Regions from separate parts of the Homo sapiens genome. Here all the other regions are linked to region 2. The links are contacts of gene promoters, found by promoter capture Hi-C in blood cells and fetal thymus (Javierre and others, 2016). All regions are on one chromosome and are shown on one strand. The core of a region is centred on a gene start or on the middle of the fragment in contact, and the rest is flanking DNA. Distances in the headings are between cores, read along the strand shown. Region 1 overlaps VIPAS39 (VPS33B interacting protein, apical-basolateral polarity regulator, spe-39 homolog). Region 2 holds the start of SPTLC2 (serine palmitoyltransferase long chain base subunit 2). Region 3 overlaps SLIRP-OT1 (SLIRP overlapping transcript 1).

Region 1 (3,148 bases), core at 139-2,638, 190 kb before region 2:
CTACACAGTACTTCCATGCTGCCTCAGTAAGCAGGAAAGAGCACACTTCTCCTGATCCTCGAGCCAGATACACATGCCAGCAATGAGTGCTCTAGCTGTGATCCAGTGCTCTGCTCATTTCTCCCTGATGTCTTTTCTCCACGAGTTCTCCTTTTCTATCATTTGAACAGTACATCAGTATTCCACTTGGGCTAACACAGTAGATGCTACTCAGAGAGGACAGTTTGGAATTGTTTCTAAAGGGGAGAAAGGGAGAGAATTTCACTCCCTGGCCTTTTCTGTCTTGAGGCCTATTGCAGCCATTGTGCTGCCTTTAAGGGAAAACAAGAGCAGATCGGGTCTCCCATCACTGACCAGTAAGAGGCTTAAAGTTAGGTCTCCAAGAATATCCTGTACCCAACTCTCTTCAGGACCCATTACCTGCACAGGGGCATTGTTCTTGTGCAAAATTTCGACAACCCGATGGAAGCCAATGGGTGCTCTCTTCTTGGTATAGCCCAGCCAGTTCTGAAAGAGGAAGATGGGGTAGCGGCAGGTAGGCCAGGCACACTCAACACATTCTAGGTTAGTCTATGTTTTACGATCAGACCAGAATAATGTGGTGGGTGAGTGGGGGTGCTGAGGGATACAGAAATAATGAGAAATGAATTTTTCAGAAAAATCAAGGGATTTGAGAGAGTGGAAATGAATCAGGTTTGAAATAACTTCTTAGATCTATAGAAACGAATGCAGGGAAAAGTCTTGAAATACTACTAAATGGGATAAGTAACTTACTTAATATTTGTAGTATGAACTTATCAATGTAGAAAATAATTCCATCTTCCATATCTTTGTAAGTACAGATGTTTATTTGCAAATTCATGAGGGAAGGTCTGGAAAGCTACCCATTAAACTTTTAACAGTGTTTGCCTTGAGAAAGGGGGTGAGATAGGAGTAGGTAGAAAATGAAAAAGGAACTTCACTCTTTCTATACTTTAATACAGTGTTTGATTTTGACAACAGACACATATTGCTTTGTTAATATAACTAATTAAATAATTAACAAATAGGAAAAACAGAAAATTTTTAAACCCATAATGGAAAAACAGATATTTAAAACGTAAACTAATTCATATTGAACCGCCAAAGATCCCACATAGCCAAAGCAATCAATGTTAAAGAAAAACAAAATGGAGGCCAGGTGCGGTGGCTCATGTCTGTAATCCCAGCACTTTTGGAGGCCGAGGTGGGCGGATCACTTGAGGCCAGGAGTTCGAGACCAGCCTGGCCAACATGGTGAAACCCCATCTTTACTAAAAATACAAAAATTAGCCGGGCAGGGTGGCGCATGCCTTTAATCCCAGCTACTCGGGAGGTTGAGGCAGGAGATTCAGTGGAACCCTGGAGGCAGAGGTTGCAGTGAGCTGAGATTGCACCACTGCACTCCAGCCTGGGTGACAGAGCAAGACTCTGTCTCAAAAAAGAAAAAAAAAAAAAAAGGGGGGGTAGGGGTAGGAGGCAACATGCTTCATGATTTCAAATTATATTACAAAGTTACATATATTAATCAAAACAGTACGGGGCTGGCATAAAAACAAACACATAGACCAGTGGAATAGAATAGAGAGCCTAGAAATAAACCCAAGCATATATGGTCAGCTAATTTTCAACAAAAGCACCAAGAGGACCCAATGGGGAAAGGATAGTCTCTTCAATGAGTGGTGCTGGGAAAACTGGATTTCCACATGCAAAAGAATGAAATTAGACCTTTATCTTACACCATACACAAAAATCAACTCAAAATGGATAATATACCTAAGCATAAGACCTGAAGCCATAAAACTCATAGAAGAAAACATGGGAAAAAGCTCCTTGACATTGGCCTTGGCAATGATTTTTTTGGATATCACACCAAAGGCTCAGGCTACAAAAGCAAAAATAAATGGGATTACATCAAACTAAAAAGCTGCGCATGGCAAAGGAAACAATCAAAATGAAAGGCAGCCTATGGATTAGAATATTTGTAAACCACATATCTGATAAGGGATTAGTATCTAAAACATATAAAGAACTCACACAATGCAATAGCAGAAACAAAAATTGCCAGATTTAAAAATGGGCAAAAGACTTGAATGGACATTTCTCCAAAGAAGACATGGAAATGGCCAAGAAGTACATGAAAAGGTGATCAGTATCACTAAACATCAGGGAAATGCAAATCAAAACTATAATAAGATATCACCTCACACCTGTTAAGATGACTGTTATCAAAAAGACAAATGATGTGTTAGCAAGGGTGTGGGGAAAGGGAACTCTTGTACCCTGTCGGTGGGAATGTAGATTGGTGTAGCCAATGTGGAAAACAGGCTGCAGTGAGCTACGGTCATGCCACTGCACTTCAGCCTGGGTGACAGAGTGAGACCCTCTCTCAAAAAAGTAAAAATAAAAATAAAAATAGAACTATCATATGACCCAGTAATCAATCTTTCTTTTGGGTATATGCCCAAAATAAATGAAATCATCACCTCATAAAGATACTTGCATTTCCACATTCATTGTAACACTATTCATGAGATGTTAACTATTCATGAAATGTAACTATTATAAATTATTGCTGAGAATTTAAATATCTGTAACTTACAAAAATAATAAACAAATAAATAATTCCCTCTCCCTAAAAAATAGCCAAGATAAGGAAACAACTTAAGTGTCCATTGACAAACAAATGGATACAGAAACTATGGAACTATGGTATATATATACATACATGCTGGAATATTAGCTTTAGAGATCTAATTACAAGATGAGGACTGTAGTTAATAGTACTGTACTGTAATCAGGAGTTTTGCTAAATGAGTAGATTTTAGCTGTTTTTGCCACAAAAAAATAATTTGAGATGATAGATATGTTAATTTGCTTCACTGTAGTAACCATTTTACTCTCTACATGTATCTCATAACATCTTATCGTATAACTTAAGTATATACAATATATAATAACATTTATCTTAAAAAAAGAAGAAAGATAACAAGTGTTGGCAAGGGTATAGAGAAAAGGGACCCTGGTACACTGTTGTCGGTGGGAATGTAAATTAGTGCAGCCATCATGAAAAACAGTATAGGCGTTCCTCAAAAATGTTTAAACAGAACTACTATATGATCCAGCAATC
Region 2 (2,910 bases), core at 230-2,729:
GTTATCACTTCCTCCCTCACACAATTATTTCTTTAAAAGTGAAAACAAATCTTTTGATCTGTGTATTACTTCGCTTTGACACCTTACAACTTCAGGGGAGGTCAAGTCTGCTTTACTTATTTTTCCCCTCAACTCAGTCTCAATATCTCAACATGACCTGGAAAAATGCTTTATTTTCTGCTTCGCAGCAAACAGTAACAGACCTATCCATCATAACTACTCATCTGGGGAGTAGTTATGTTAAAGCCAAATTAAGATCACCATCCTATCAAACTGCAACAGTCACACTCCCGCTAAAGGGAAACAGAGTACTTTCTAAGCGTTCCTTAATATCTGTACAAGACTTAAACGTATTAAAGTCAACTGCAAAATTATCGCAACACTCTCTTCCAGGAACACCGATCTTGCATCTTTTTAACCAGCTCATCTTTAAAAACACATTTCAACAGAATATCTGTCAGTCCAGACCACTGTAAGGTTGATAATAAGCATTGTCTTGAATTTAGAACTTTTCAAAATATTTTAGAACTGCCTGAACTTGGTTGATGATTCAGCATGGTTAATTAGTATAGAGTCATCGCAAGTCACCACCAGGCTAAACAATCCCCTTGTGTGATAGCACTCGTGTTCAGGAAAGGGTCGAAGGGGCCACCTAATCCAACCTGGAGCCTGGGGTAGAGTCTCACCACCGGCAGAGTTAAGAGAATGATGCTTTCGAGGGACCAGCTTGGATTCCCTGCCAGATCTATGGACCAATGTCCTGGTTGGGGACTGAACGTGGTAGTCCAGAATGTGGTTGGGAGAGGCTGGGTGTGTTTCCATCTGACACCACCGCCTAATTTTCTTTGCTTCTTAAGGACCCCATGGGTGGTTTTCTTTGGACGACTGCAGGACTTTAAAAGGAAGCAATAACCTCAGGGGTTTGAGAAGGGACCCTCCGGAGCCCTTGGGCGGCTCCCACTGGAGTCCGAAGGGCCCCTCATCGCTTCCCCTGGGGACAGCACACACTTCTGGCAGAATGGGGCAGAGAAAAGTACCCGGAGCTCTGAGCAGAACCCAGAGCTCCGGGAGTAAGACCTCCAGGCGCGGAGAGGTGGGGAGCCCCCGAGCCGTCCTTGAGCCTCCAGGCTCGTGGAGGTCGGGCCAGCGGCCGGACACTGCCGCCCACACCTGCGAACGGCGCCCGCCCCGCGGATTGCCCAGCGGATGGCCCGGAGACCTCGCCCCGCCCGGCCGCCCCTCCGCCAGTCCACACCGCCACCCCGGCCCCGCCGCGCGGGCCCCTCGTACCTGGCCGGCGGCGGCTGCGGCTGCGGCTGCAGCGCTGCTCCTCACGTACCCGTTCCGTACTTCCCCGTTCGCCACGCAGCCATTCGCCCGCACCGTGCGGCGGCAGCAGCAGCCTCCGGGCTCCGGCCGCATCTTCCTGGCAGCACCAGGCGCAAGGCAGGCTCTGTAGGCGGTGGCAGCGGCGGCGGCTGCTCCAAGTCCCGCTCCGCACCCCACCCACCTCCCCGAAACCGGAAATGGCTGCAGCGCCGCCGCCAATTCCCGGGCGGGCCTTCACAGAGGGCGGGGCCCTCTCCGCAGAGGACCGGTCTCGGCCAAGGCCACGCAGCGAAGGGAAAAAGCGGCGGGGACCTGCCGAGAGGGATGTGGTCCTGAGGACCGCTGACCAATCTGGAAGAGAAGGAGGCGGACCCCATGCTGCTGCCTGGCCAATCACGGACGAGAGCAAAGCGCCTCGCCGGTGGAGAGGGGGCTTCTCTAGAGGGACTCCAGGGCCTGGCACCTGATTGGAGGCCGCATCCAGGTCCGGGGTAGGGCTTGCCTGTTTAATGGTCCAGACCGAGGAGGAGGCGGAGCCCAGGGAAAAGTAGCCAATTAGAGTGTGAGGAAATAAAAGGGGCTGAGCCGAAGTCTCTAGAGCGGGTTCCCAGGTTCTCCAGGACAGGTGGCGCCCTCTTTGCCCTTGCCTCGTGGGAAGTTTTGGAGTTTATGTCCTAGCCCAAGACAGGCAGCTCGCTTATTTAATTAGCTGATTCCTCTGTGAGTGTTTATAGAATAGATTTTTTGACAATCTCTCATCATTCTTCAATATGCGCCACACATTCACTATTTCTGAATTATTATAAGTAATAATTCAGATGCCTTTTCACGTGCCCTTCACATTTGCCCTTGGCAGGGTTTTCTATACAGTCTCCTTTAAATTAAGTCTTTCCTTCAAAGTTAGAAAACCTGGTCTAATTCCAACTCTGCCAATAACTGGAAGCTAAAACTTGAGCACTGTGTTTAACCACTTTAGAAGCCAAATTCTTTAAAATGGAGTTAATACTTCCTGCTTCATAGACTTACAGCAAGAATTATATCATTAACCCATTATGCACCTCTTATAATACTAGGCTTATAGTAGGAGTATAATAAATATTATTTTCTCACCCTTTTAGTTCCATCTTCCCATGGGGTTAGAAAGCAAGGAAATTGATCTACATTACAATTAGAGACTTTCTGTTATCCATAAAGAATTTAGTATCATAATTGAGAGTATGGACTCTGGAGTCGGTCTGGGTTTTAAATCCTAGCTGCGCCACTTACTAGCTGAGTGACCTCTATGTGTCTTCATCTGTTCAGTGGGGACAATAATAGTTGTCGTGAAGATTGAATAAGTTTATGTATGTAATGTATTTTGTACAGGACCTAGCAATTAGTAAGCATTCATTAAGTGTTGGTTACTAGTAATTGCTAAATGCACCTATGAGAATCCGTGCATTCTTTCCCCACCCTGCAGGAGCTTTAGAAAGGAGGTCCACAAGGTATTGGTTTTGCATGACTTAGGAGCTGAATAATCTAACAGAAGGTGGGATCATTCATCCCACACATCCTATTTGAGTTGACAAACACTATTGATCC
Region 3 (2,943 bases), core at 295-2,794, 150 kb after region 2:
TCTCGAACTCCTGACCTCAGGTGCTCCATCCACCTGGCCTCCCAAAGTGCTGGGATTATAGGCCTGAGCCACTATGCCCAGCCTCAATTTACTTTCAAATAGTTTATCTCAACAACAAAAAATGTGTGTGTGTGTGTGTTTATAGTGAGAGAGTGTGAGAGAGCATGAAAGGGAAAGCAAAATGTTAACAATTATTTAAGCTTAGATGGGGGAGTGTGGACTGTATAGGTGTTTATTGAACTATTGTTTCAACTTTTATATATATATGAAAATTATCTCTTTTTTTTTTTTGAGACAGGGTCTCACTCTGTTGCTCAAGCTGGAGTTCAGTGGTATGATCACGGCTCACTACAGCCCGAATCTCCCAGGCTCAAGCGATACTCCTACCTCAGCCTCCCAAGTAGCTAGGACTACAGGCATGTGCCACCAGGCCTGGCTAATTTATTTTTTGTAGAGACAGGGTCTCACTATGTTGCCCAGGCTGGTCTTGAACTCCCGGACTGAAGTGATCCTCCTGCCTGGCATCCCAAAGTGATGTAAGCCACTGCACCCAGCCCTGAAAATTTTTATAATAAAAATTTAAGAAGAGGAAAGTTGTAGAACTCACATTTCCCAATTTCAGAAACCTACTACAAAGCTGCAGTAATCAAGACAGTGTGGTACTGGCATAAGGATAGATTCATAGATCAATGGAATAAAATTGAGAGTCCTGAAATAAACCCATATGTTTATGGTGAACTGATTTTTGACAAGGGTACCAAGACCATCTAAAACTATTATTGACATAGTTTTTTCAACAAATGGTGCTGGGAAACTGTATGTCTAAATGCAAAAGAATGCAGTTGGACCCTTGCTTCACGCCCTATACAAAAATTAACTCAAAATAACTCAAAGACCTAAATGTGAAAACTAAAACTATAAAACTCTTAGAAGAAAACACAGGGGTCAATCTTCATGATCTTGGATTTGGCAAAGAATTCTTAGATAAGATACAAAAAGCATAAACAACAAAGGAAAAAATAGAAAAATTGGACTAAATCAAAAGTTAAGGTTTTGTGCTTCAAAGGACATCATCAAGAAAGTGAAGGGCCGGGCATGGTGGCTCACGCCTGTAATCCCAGCACTTTGGGAGGCCGAGGCAGGCGGATCACGAGGTCAGGAGATCGAGACGATCCTGGCTAACATGGTGAAACCCCATCTCTACTAAAAATACAAAAATTAGCCGGGTGTAGTGGCGGGCACCTGTAGTCCCAGCTACTCAGAAGGCTGAGGCAGGAGAGTGGCGTGAACCCAGGAGGCAGAACTTGTAGTGAGCCAAGATTGTGCCACTGCACTCCAGCCTGGGCAACAGAGCGAGACTCCGTCTAAAAAAAAAAAAAAAAAAAAAGAAAGAAAGTGAAAAGTCCCAAGACCTTCAGGCAAACAAAGACATTCCTATTAGGCATGACATTTCAGGAGTTTAGAGATTACTTCCAAGAAGCTAAGGACAAAAGCCAGATCTCTCTTTGGACAAGGTTAAATTTGTTACTACAGAAGCCTTGAAAACATTATGCTAAATGAAAGAAGCCTGTCACAAAAGACCAGATATTGTATTATTACCTTTATATAAAATGTTCAGAATAAACAAATCCTGTGGGGGTGTTAGGAAAGGTCAATAATTGTTAATGGGTATGAGTTTCTTTTGGGGGAGGGTTGAAAAATTAGTGGTGACGGTTGTTCAACTTTGAATATACTAAACGCCTCTAATCTGCATACTTTAATAAGGTGATTTTATGGTGCGTGAACTACATTTCAATAAAGCTGTAGAAGCAAAGTTAAGTAAAATGCAAAAGTAATAAAATGAATAAGTGAATAAAAAGTATAATATAGTATCTCTTCATTTTTTTCCAAATGAAATTTAGAATTATTTTGTGCATTCTATTGAAAAATATCTGTAGGCATTTTGATTGGCGTTGAATTGTCCATAAATTAATTTTGAGAGAGCCAATATCTTTACAATTTTATGTCTTCTCACTCAAGAACACTGGTTTTGGTTTTGGTTTTTGAGTTGGAGTCTTGCTCTGTTGCCTGGGCTGGAGTGCAGTGGACGATCTTGGCTCCCTACAACCTCTGCCTCCTGGGTTCAAGAGATTCTCCTGCCTCAGCCTCCTGAGTAGCTGAGATTACGGGCATGCACCATCACACCTGGCTAATTTTTGTATTTTTAGTAGAGACGGGGTTTCGCCATGTTGGCCAGGCTGGTCTCGAACCCCTGAACTCAAGTGATCTGCCTGCCTTGGGCTCCCAAACTGTTGGGATTACAGGCGTGAGCCACTGCTTTTGGCCAGGAACACTGTTTAGATTTTAACTTATTAAAATCTTCCTTCATATCTTTCAATAACATTTTGAAGTTGTCTTTATATAGATTGTACACATCTTTCAGGATATTAATTTTGGTATTTCATTTTTAAAATCATGAATGCAATCTCTGTTTTTATATGATTACTAAATAGAACAGTAATTTTTATTAAGTAAGTCAAAAATGTTCTGAAACATGTCAGTCATTTTATAGGCAGAATCAATTTTTTTAATTTTTATTTTTTATTTTTTACAGGCATGATCAACCAGGTACAGAATCAGTTTTTTGGCTGTAGATGATTTAAGAGTTAGGGTCAACTTGTCTTTGGTGAGATGTGCTCCTCTATCTTCTTCTGGAATTAAGCAGTTCTTTGGGTTGATGAGTAGGAAAGCAGTTTTGCTGTCAGCTACTTCCCTCCATGAGTTCTGAGACTTCCTGTTTAAAAGCACTACGAAACCTGCTGACCCCACTTCTTTCCCGATTTAATTATTCTTTTTGAAAGTTGGCTCTAACCTTAAGGGTTGTGAAAACACAAGGATCCAGTGTGGTTGAAGCTTTAGAACTAAGAAAACCATTCCTTTTTCTATCAAACAGCCTGGCAGGGG

What was found. Contacts are between HindIII fragments. The CHiCAGO score rates a contact against its expected background, and 5 or more counts as called.
Region 1: a fragment that was not itself captured here is called in contact with the fragment with the promoter of SPTLC2 in region 2 in 1 of 17 cell types (neutrophils); the score reaches 6.1 in neutrophils.
Region 3: a fragment that was not itself captured here is called in contact with the fragment with the promoter of SPTLC2 in region 2 in 2 of 17 cell types (total CD8 T cells and naive CD8 T cells); the score reaches 6.1 in total CD8 T cells.

Annotation. Positions count from the first base shown.
Region 1 is chr14:77,429,261-77,432,408 of GRCh38, forward strand. It overlaps VIPAS39 (VPS33B interacting protein, apical-basolateral polarity regulator, spe-39 homolog), which reads right to left. Exons shown (of 20, transcript NM_001193315.2): 17 at 421-507. Among named protein-coding and RNA genes, the nearest start is that of NOXRED1, 7.3 kb to the left of the region's middle. The HindIII fragment of the contact is 6,466 bases long and covers 1-3,148 here.
Region 2 is chr14:77,615,158-77,618,067 of GRCh38, forward strand. It overlaps SPTLC2 (serine palmitoyltransferase long chain base subunit 2), which reads right to left and starts at 1,480. Exons shown (of 12, transcript NM_004863.4): 1 at 1,291-1,480. The coding sequence starts at 1,422. RefSeq lists enhancers at 737-946, 1,275-1,807 and silencers at 1,127-1,326, 1,467-1,516, 1,847-1,906. The HindIII fragment of the contact is 6,254 bases long and covers 1-2,910 here.
Region 3 is chr14:77,765,859-77,768,801 of GRCh38, forward strand. The region is part of intron 1 of SLIRP-OT1 (SLIRP overlapping transcript 1); the gene reads left to right. Among named protein-coding and RNA genes, the nearest start is that of SNW1, 6.2 kb to the left of the region's middle. The HindIII fragment of the contact is 2,692 bases long and covers 199-2,890 here.